Regions from separate parts of the Homo sapiens genome. Here regions 2 and 3 are each linked to region 1. The links are contacts of gene promoters, found by promoter capture Hi-C in blood cells and fetal thymus (Javierre and others, 2016). All regions are on one chromosome and are shown on one strand. Each heading gives the region's core, a stretch centred on a gene start or on the middle of the fragment in contact. The rest is flanking DNA. Distances are from core to core; before and after follow the strand shown. Region 1 overlaps BSCL2 (BSCL2 lipid droplet biogenesis associated, seipin). Region 2 holds the start of EML3 (EMAP like 3). Region 3 holds the start of NXF1 (nuclear RNA export factor 1).

Region 1 (2,908 bases), core at 138-2,637:
CAACCACCCCTGAGTAGTCTATGAAGGCGGCTTCTTCCTCAGGTCCCTGGCTGCCTCACCTTCACTTCCTACCCCTCAGTCTCATCCAACCATTCCAATTGCTTGAGTACCTCTCTCCCTACTCAACCACACTCTATTATAGAGCAAAGGCCCCTCCTTCCAAGAAACCTTCCTAGATTAAGCCCAGCACTGTCTCTGATCTGCCTTTCCCACCAAGTAGTTCTGTAATCCAGTATGGGATCTAAGTCCCAGCGCACCATCTGAAGCTTTCCCCCCATCATGTAGACATCAGGAATTTGCTTCATGATGAGGTTGTGTTGTTAATTAATGGAAGAATGGAGTCTTAACATTTATTAGGCCAGGTGCGGTGGCTCACACCTGTACTTGCAGCACTTTGGGAGGCTGAGGTGGTTGAATCATTTGAGATCAGGAGTTCGAGACCAGCCTGGTCAACATGGTGAAACCCCACCTCCACTAAAAATACAAAAATTAGCCAGGTGTAGTGGTGAGCACCTGTAGTCCCAGCTACTTGAGAGGCTGAGGCAGGAGAATCGCTTGAACCCAGGAGGTGAAGGTTGCCGTGAGCCGAGATCACGCCACTGCACTCCAGCCTGGGCGACAGAGCAAGATCTCTGTCTCAAAAACAAAAAAACATTAAACAGCCACTATGTGCTAATGGGAATTTTACATTTCCCCATTGAATCCAAACTAGTCTTGCTATGAGGCAGTTACTATTATACCCATTTTATAATACTTTATACCCAAGAAGTTAAGTCAGGTGACCCACAGCTAGCTTGTTTCTGAATGAGGACACAAGCCCATGTCTGTCTGGCTCTAAAGCCTGTTTTCTGAGAGCAGCTCCACTCTTCACACTTAATCCCAAAGCTGGGCATGCTCCTGAGATACCTGGGGTGTTTGGCAAAGGTTTCTGGTTTTGTAAGCTGATTCCTTTCTCTTTTTTTTTTTAAGACAAAGTTTTGCTCTTGTTGCCCAGGCTGGAATGCAGTGGCGCGATCTTGGCTCACCACAACCTCTGCCTCCCGGGTTCAAGCAATTCTCCTGCCTCAGCTTCCTGAGTAGCTGGGATTACAAGCATGCACCACCATGCCCAGCTAATTTTGTATTTTTAGTAGAGACGGGATTTCTCCATGTTGGTCAGGCTGGTCTCGAACTCTGGACCTCAGGTGATCTACCCGCCTCGGCCTCCCAGAGTGTTGGGATTACAGGCATGAGCCACTGCGCCCGGCCTTGATTCCCTTCTTTATCCTGATGTGTCTGTGACCTCAAAGCCAAGGGTGTTTTCTCCTGAGGAATCCCTACCCAGACATTCTTTTTTTTTTTTTTTTTTTTTTTTTTTTGAGACGGTCTTGCTCTGTTGCCCAGGAGGGAGAATAGTGGTGCAATCTTGGCTCACTGCAGACTCAACCTCCCAGGTTTAAGCGATCCTCCCACCTCAGCCTCTAGAGTAGCTGGGACTACAGCCGTGAGCCACCATGCCCAGCTAATTTTTAAACTTTTTTTGTAGAGATGGGTTTCGCCATGTTGCCCAGGCCAGTCTTGAACTCCTGGGCTCAAGCGATCTGCCTGCCTCGGCCTCCCAAACTGCTGGGATTATAGGCCTGAGCCACCACACCCAGCCCCCTACCCATTCTGATCCTGCCATCTTCCTCCACACCTTCTCAGACAGGCCACCAACACTTACCGAACGCGAAGAAGTGGAGATGATTCGGCCACCTCTGGTGTAGCAGGAAATGGTGACCAAGAACATGCCCAAATCTTGATTCACAGGGGACTCTGGCAGCTCAAGCTCTAAGGTAACACGATACGGCTGTCCATACATCAGCACCTGCCAAAGGTAGCCCCCATTTCTTTAAAAAAATTTTTTTGTTGAAAATGTACTGTCTCTATTCCACCTCCCTCTTAGCCCCCGCAACGCCCCCAAATACTCAGCCACAACCCTCTTGGGTAGCCTAACGGGCCTTTCAATCTGTCATCCCAAGAAGGTGCTGCCCCCTTCTGGTGGCTAGAGCCTCTCACGTCCAGTTCTTGGGTATCCTGTTGGCTCTCCTGAATCAGACTGGCTACCCTGTTCCCAGAAAGGCTGTGTCACGTTTCTTTTCCAAAAGTGAACCATCATGTTGCCAACTGGGCCATCTGTGACTCTGGCCTATGGGCCGGTGAGGCTGTCCCCAGGGCCCAGCCTGTCCTCTCTTACATTATTAATCAAGCACTGACAGTGCTCAGTCTCCCCAGCCAGCTCTGGCACAGTCATCCTCGCTCCAGATCATCTTTCTGCCATTCTAGCTCCCTTATCTTGGTTCTGTTGGTAGCGCCCCAAGACTCAGAGTAGGAAGGCTTCTTCACAGGGATCACCCTCAAGAGGTTAAAGATTTGCCACCAAACATGCCCTAGTTTTTCCTATTTCTATATTCTTCTAGCCCCTTTATTGATTCATATCTGGCAACAAGGCCCTCACACAGTAGTATATAAAAATTACAGGAGTGAGGGTAAAGCTTCTGTTTTTAATTAGAGGTAATGGGTTAAAAAAAAAAAAAAAGGTTAGCCAGGTGCAGTGAGTCATGCCTGTAATCCCAGCACTTTGGGAGGCCAAGGCAGGTGGATCACCTGAGGTCAGGAGTTCGAGACCAGCCTGGCCAACATGGTGAAACCCCCCGTCTCTATTAAAAATACAAAAATTAGATGGACGTGGTGGCAGGCGCCTGTAATCTCAGCCACTCAGGAGGCTGAGGCAGGAGAATCGCTTGAACCCTGGAGGCGGAGATTGCAGTGAGCCGAGAGCGCGCCATTGCACTGCAGCCTGGGCGACAAGAGCAAAACTCTGTCTCAAAAAAAAAAAAAAAAAAAAAAAAAATTTGGAAAATACTTCCCTAGCCCATAGTGAACTACC
Region 2 (2,700 bases), core at 143-2,642, 81 kb before region 1:
GCCCCAAGGAGGAGGAAAAATGGGGTGTGATGACATGCATACCTGTCCCCCGGAGGAGCTGGTGTGCCAGAGCCCTGCAGGGAGGAAGGGGGCACCTGCAGCCGCAGCAGGCGAAGGGCTTCTGCCAGGGCTGCCTTTACCAGTTCCATCTCCTGCTCCTGCACCCGAAGCCGCTGGCTCAGAGACTGGAGGGCCTCCCGAGCAGGGCCGTCACCTGGGAAAAGGGCAAGAGGTACTCAGAATGTACCCATCACCTGAAGAAAGCGTAGAGGGGATTCTGTCTCCCCACAACTTTACATGTGTCCGGTAGGACTGCCCCTTTCAGGCAGCCCCAGGCTTGAATGCTCGTCCAGAGGGGAGGAGACGGTGGTAAAGGATCAAGGGCCTCCTTCTGGCAGGGCAGGCGAGAAACCTGGCAAAGCTCCCTTCCTGCTGCCGTCTCAGCCTCCGCAAAGACTGGGAGTACCATGGAGTACCGGGGGGGAAATATGGAGTACTGCCGAGGAACGTGGGAGCCACAGAGAGAGGCGCCGCACTGGTGAGGGCAGGGACCGCAGCCCTCCCCACGCGCCCCCAGCAAGCTCAGGTCTCCAGCGAAAGCTGAGTAACTGAGCCGGGGGAACACCAGGAGAGAGAACGGGGTGCGGGAATGGAGTCATACTGAGGACCCAGAGTACAAGAAAAGAGATCCAGAGTGACAGGAGAGAGTGTGAGTGGTGAGCAGAGTCACAGTGAAGGTCTCAGGGGGCAGTGGGGATCAGAAGGAAAAAGACCTGAAATACCACGAGAAGAGGCCCGGAGTAACGCAGGGGGCAGGGAAACATCGAGGGGCCCGGAGTTACGTGGGGCGTAGAATGACGCTGGGGAAGCCCGAAGTGACAGCAAGACCCAAGCAACTAGGGAGGGCGACCGGAGGAACTGTGGAGGATGCTCGGAGCCCCTGGGGCGGAGGAGCACGCGGGGACGCCTCCAGACAGCCGTCCAGCTCTGGCATAACCCGACGAGCCGGGCGCTCCGGGAAGGGGCACGCCGCCCGCCCCGCCCCGTACTCACCGGGCCCCGCGGCCCCGTCCATCCGGCCCCCGGGTTGCTCCGAGCGGCGGCGGCGGAGGAGGCGTCTAAGCCGCGGGGGCCACGGCCGGGGAGAGGGGAAGGGGAAGCACCCCGGGGCGCGCGCGAAGGGCGCCGTACCACCACCCCGAGGGGGCGCTGTCGGGCGCGGGGAAGGGGCCTGGAGGGGGCGCTGTGGGCCCGGGGCCGCAGTCTCCAGACCCCCCCGGGCCCTCGGACTCTCCCGGGGCCGCTCTCGGCTCCCGGGGGTGGGGTGGCAGGGCCGTCCGGTGCCACAGCGCCGCAGCACAAACAGGCGCCGGACGCGGAGCCGCCAGGAAGCGCGGGAGGGGGGGCGGGCCCGAGGGGGGGCCGGGCCGCTTGGTAACCCCTCCCTGTCCGGGCCTCGCCGCTCAGTACGGGGGCGGGGCTAGCCGGCTGACCCCCTGGCCTACTCCCGGCCTCCGGCTCCAGGCCCTTCCCGGATCCCCGCCCCCGGATTCCCAGGGGACGGGGAAGGGAGCGCCCGCCCCGATATCTCCGCCCCCCAGCCCCTAACCCCTCAGGGTTGAGCGGACCAACCCCACCACTTCCGCGAGGGGCAGGGGCGGGGTCACAAAACGGGCCCTCGGCCTAGGGGCGGAGTTTCTCGTAAGGGGCAAGGCCAAGGCATCTTGTATTGGGGCTGACAGGGGGGCGGGTTATTAGGGCTGAGGATGGGAGGATGCTCAGGGTATTGGGGTCAGGGTGGCATTAGCCCAGCTCAAGCCGGGCCGGGCTGACTCAGCATCCTGCCCCAGCCAGCTTCCATCCCTGACACCTCTGCATTCCCTTGGGCAGAGATGGGAGATGGCGCCGGTGTTGCCCCTGGTGCTGCCCCTGCAGCCCCGCATCCGCCTGGCACAAGGGCTCTGGCTCCTCTCCTGGCTGCTGGCGCTGGCTGGTGGCGTCATCCTCCTCTGTAGTGGGCACCTCCTGGTCCAGCTAAGGCACCTTGGCACCTTCCTGGCTCCCTCCTGTCAGTTCCCTGTCCTGCCCCAGGCTGCCCTGGCAGCGGGCGCGGTGGCTCTGGGCACAGGACTAGTGGGTGTAGGAGCCAGCCGGGCAAGTCTGAATGCAGCTCTATACCCTCCCTGGCGAGGGGTCCTGGGCCCGCTGCTGGTGGCTGGCACGGCTGGTGGGGGGGGGCTCCTGGTCGTCGGCCTCGGGCTAGCCCTGGCTTTGCCTGGGAGTCTGGATGAGGCGCTGGAGGAGGGCCTGGTGACTGCCTTGGCTCACTACAAGGACACAGAGGTGCCTGGGCACTGTCAGGCCAAAAGGCTGGTGGATGAGCTGCAACTGAGGTACCACTGCTGCGGGCGCCACGGGTACAAGGATTGGTTTGGGGTCCAGTGGGTCAGCAGCCGTTACCTGGATCCCGGTGACCGGGATGTGGCTGAGTGAGTGATTTGCGTCTCCCTTCCTCCTCCTCCTCCTCCCTGGACAGGCTCCCTCCTGCTGCCTTGAATCCCCACCTCGCTCAGAGGGGCAATAAGTAGAACATAGTGGCTGAGAGACTGGTTACAGCTCTGCCATTTATTAGCTGTGAAACCCAGGGCATGTTACCAAACCACCCTGGGCCCATTCCTTCACCTGTAAAATGGAAATAAT
Region 3 (2,791 bases), core at 149-2,648, 110 kb after region 1:
ATAGCTTCTAGTACTCTGAACTATTGGAAGAGATACATACTAACGACAGAGGCCATCTCCATGCAAACTCCGCTCCCTATCCACAGGAAAGAACCCTCTCTGTGGGAGGGCAGCATCAGGGAAAAGTTACTGGAAAACTGTGTAGGGCTTTTGAAAAATGAAGTAGAAACTGGAATTAGAGAGAAGCAGGATGTAGAAATGTGAGACCCAAAAGTGTAACTGAACACAAATCAGACCTCTGAAAGCCACCTGAAATCTGCCACTCAGTACTTTGTCTATACAGTGCAGACGCCAGTTACAAATATGACCAGTTTAAGGATCCTCTAAAAATTCTCCTTGTTCTCAAACTGCCACTTTGAAGTTTTGTGAGGAGCTCTTCGTTTCCATGGCCAGAAATGTCCTTTAACTCAGGAGACAAATTCTAGACTCAGGCTCTAGTGGCAGTGCCAGGCTAGGGTGCTTAACCAGGGACCCTGGAATGCTCTCCAGGAAGATGACCTTCTGATTCATGCTGTGTAGGACTGGCGTCTTAAAAAAGGTCCCTAACTCCCAAAAGAGGTCTGCCTAATACCCAGCACTCTGTAAACAATGAATCTCAACAAATGACCCTAGGAAAAAAGAACATAGAAGGCGCAGCTAACATTCACTGAGAACTTTCTCCAGTGCCGGCCACTATGCTTCAGGCACTTGATAGGAATGATCTCATTTCCCCTCCCCACACACACTCTTAAGAAATGCTGTTGTTATTCCACATTAAGGGGGTGGAAAACGAGAGTTTTAAATTCACGGTTTCAACCTCCACCACGCACTCCTAACTTACTACAAAGAACTAACACCCAGTGTAGTGTTCAGACTAGAATATCCAGTTGATGTGTAAGTCTCGAATATTAAGCCAAAGCCCAGGCCCGAGAGTTCAAGACCGACTGGACGCAGTAAAAAATAGGGCATCAGGGCAGCCCACGAGCAGGGCACTCACTCACATTAAAGGAAGAGTCAGGCCGCCAAACCTAACTGACAGGCATCAACCACCCACAAAGTTCAAAGGAATCCCGTCACCCTACCCCCGAGCCATCCGCTCCGAGCCGCAGGTCCCCCAACACCAGGATGCCAGCAGGAATCCAGGAGTCAACAACTCGGGTGTCCACCTCGAGTGCCCGGCCCCCCGCGCGCCGCTCCCCGCGGACGCCGGGCCCCTAGCGGCCTCACGCCCCGGGGGCTGAGGCCTAGGCCGGCGCCGCCCACCCGCGCCCCAGATAGCCAGTTCCCGACCCGAAGACCAGCACTTACCGCTGTACGACTTCCCCTCGTCCGCCATGCCACAGCGAAGATCAAGGGCGGGCTCAGGCGCTGGCCGCTACGCCGGCAAACAACCTAACTCCCAAGCGCTCAGGACCGAAGTGTCCCTACGCCGGGCGCCACCGCATTTATACAGCAAAGCACGTCGCGCGCCGCTGACGTCCCAGGCTGTGGGCGGTGCCGCCGCCCGGAGAAAGCGCGGCCCCCTGCGCGTGCGCACACTTAAGGCCGTCGTTCGAGGGGCGGGGCCTGGCCCTCCACGCCCCGCCCAAGACCTGAACTTGCGGAACCCCGGCTGGCAGCCAGCATGTCCCCGCACCTTTTCATCTGTCCGCTGACGCTGCCCTGGCAGCTTCAGAGTTAGTGCTAGAGCACAGTGCTGCCGCCGCAGCCCAGAACTCAGTGAGGAAGGGGGCCGCACAAAGGGCTTCAGAGGAATGGAGACCGCGCCTCCAGGTGGGAGTGATGGCTCAGACCCCTACCGGAATCTAGCCAGTGTTTCAGCTCGGCTCCTTGTCTATACCTCGCTTTCTTCGCCTATAAGATGGATTAACAAATCACGAAGTTGAGAATTAGAATGTGAGCTCGAACGTTGACTAATTAAGGGCTTTTTTTCCTCGAGGGCTTGACTCGGCAGGTACTATGCCTGGCACATGGTAAAAACTCAACATATATTTGTGAAATAAATGAATTTGTGTTATGAATTTCCCCCACCCCGCCCCGCCCTGAGTTGCTGAGTCAAATGATACGACATCTGTCAGGGGTTTGGCGAGCATTGTCTTCACAGACCTTCCATCAATGGCGTCCCCTACTAGAAACCCATCGTGTCAACGGGGCAGACAGTGAAGCTCACCAGCAGTGGCAACTTGCTGGAGATGCCGAGGAGGACATTTTAAAATATCAGGGCCTTGGGCTCTCCTAGACCCCCAAAAGCACCACCACCAGCCCCTGACTGTTGTCTCTATAGCTTCAACTTCCTTTGGAATGTATGAGACAGGGGCACTCGAGTGACCTCAGAATGTGGTTGTGAGTCTCGGTCAGGAAGAACAAAGCACACTAATCTCCCTGGACGGTGGGTATTCTGGGCAGGTGTCTCCATTCTCTGTGACTGGCTTTGATTTGGTGAAGTGCTTGGAGGGAATCAAAAGCCTCAACTGGAGTTGGGAACAAATTCTTCACCTTCCACTCCTGGAAGCAGGCAGAGCTTCTGCCTCGCTTAGCTCAAGGAAGAATTACGGCCAAATAGTTGGAGGATACAGATGAAACAGGTCCAAACACTGCTTGAGATAGTCCTGGAAGTTGCCCCCAATCAGGGACCCCCTCTGGGATCCTGCTCCCCTGTGTGAAAGGAAGTTTCCACGCTAATGAAGTGTTGCAACACTTGGTTCTCCCCTGCCTAGAGGCAGCTGTGTGTCAGAGCCCAAAATAGCCTGTGTCAGCAGTGATACCTGGCAGAGCCATTAGCCCAACCCTTTCAGTTCTGGTACTGGGCAGT

What was found. The method cuts DNA at HindIII sites, captures the fragments that hold promoters and counts their contacts. A CHiCAGO score of 5 or more calls a contact.
Region 2: a contact is called between the fragment with the promoter of EML3 here and a fragment that was not itself captured in region 1, in 7 of 17 cell types (naive B cells, naive CD4 T cells, total CD8 T cells and 4 more). The highest score is 7.5, in naive B cells.
Region 3: the fragment with the promoter of NXF1 here is called in contact with a fragment that was not itself captured in region 1 in 1 of 17 cell types (naive B cells); the score reaches 5.9 in naive B cells.

What each region holds. Positions count from the first base shown.
Region 1 is chr11:62,692,866-62,695,773 of GRCh38, forward strand. It overlaps BSCL2 (BSCL2 lipid droplet biogenesis associated, seipin), which reads right to left. Exons shown (of 11, transcript NM_001122955.4): 4 at 1,703-1,846. HNRNPUL2-BSCL2 (HNRNPUL2-BSCL2 readthrough (NMD candidate)) reads right to left here. Exons shown (of 24, transcript NR_037946.1): 17 at 1,703-1,846. Among named protein-coding and RNA genes, the nearest start is that of LRRN4CL, 4.8 kb to the left of the region's middle. The HindIII fragment of the contact is 2,247 bases long and covers 265-2,511 here.
Region 2 is chr11:62,611,383-62,614,082 of GRCh38, forward strand. EML3 (EMAP like 3) reads right to left here and starts at 1,393. Exons shown (of 22, transcript NM_153265.3): 1 at 1,054-1,393; 2 at 43-214. The coding sequence starts at 1,075. ROM1 (retinal outer segment membrane protein 1) reads left to right here and starts at 1,875. Exons shown (of 3, transcript NM_000327.4): 1 at 1,875-2,489. The coding sequence starts at 1,900. RefSeq lists enhancers at 1-476, 477-1,036, 1,810-1,869 and a silencer at 880-1,759. The HindIII fragment of the contact is 22,044 bases long and covers 1-2,700 here.
Region 3 is chr11:62,804,042-62,806,832 of GRCh38, forward strand. NXF1 (nuclear RNA export factor 1) reads right to left here and starts at 1,399. Exons shown (of 21, transcript NM_006362.5): 1 at 1,288-1,399. The coding sequence starts at 1,315. RefSeq lists enhancers at 1,192-1,691, 1,658-1,847, 1,868-1,917. The HindIII fragment of the contact is 11,555 bases long and covers 1-2,791 here.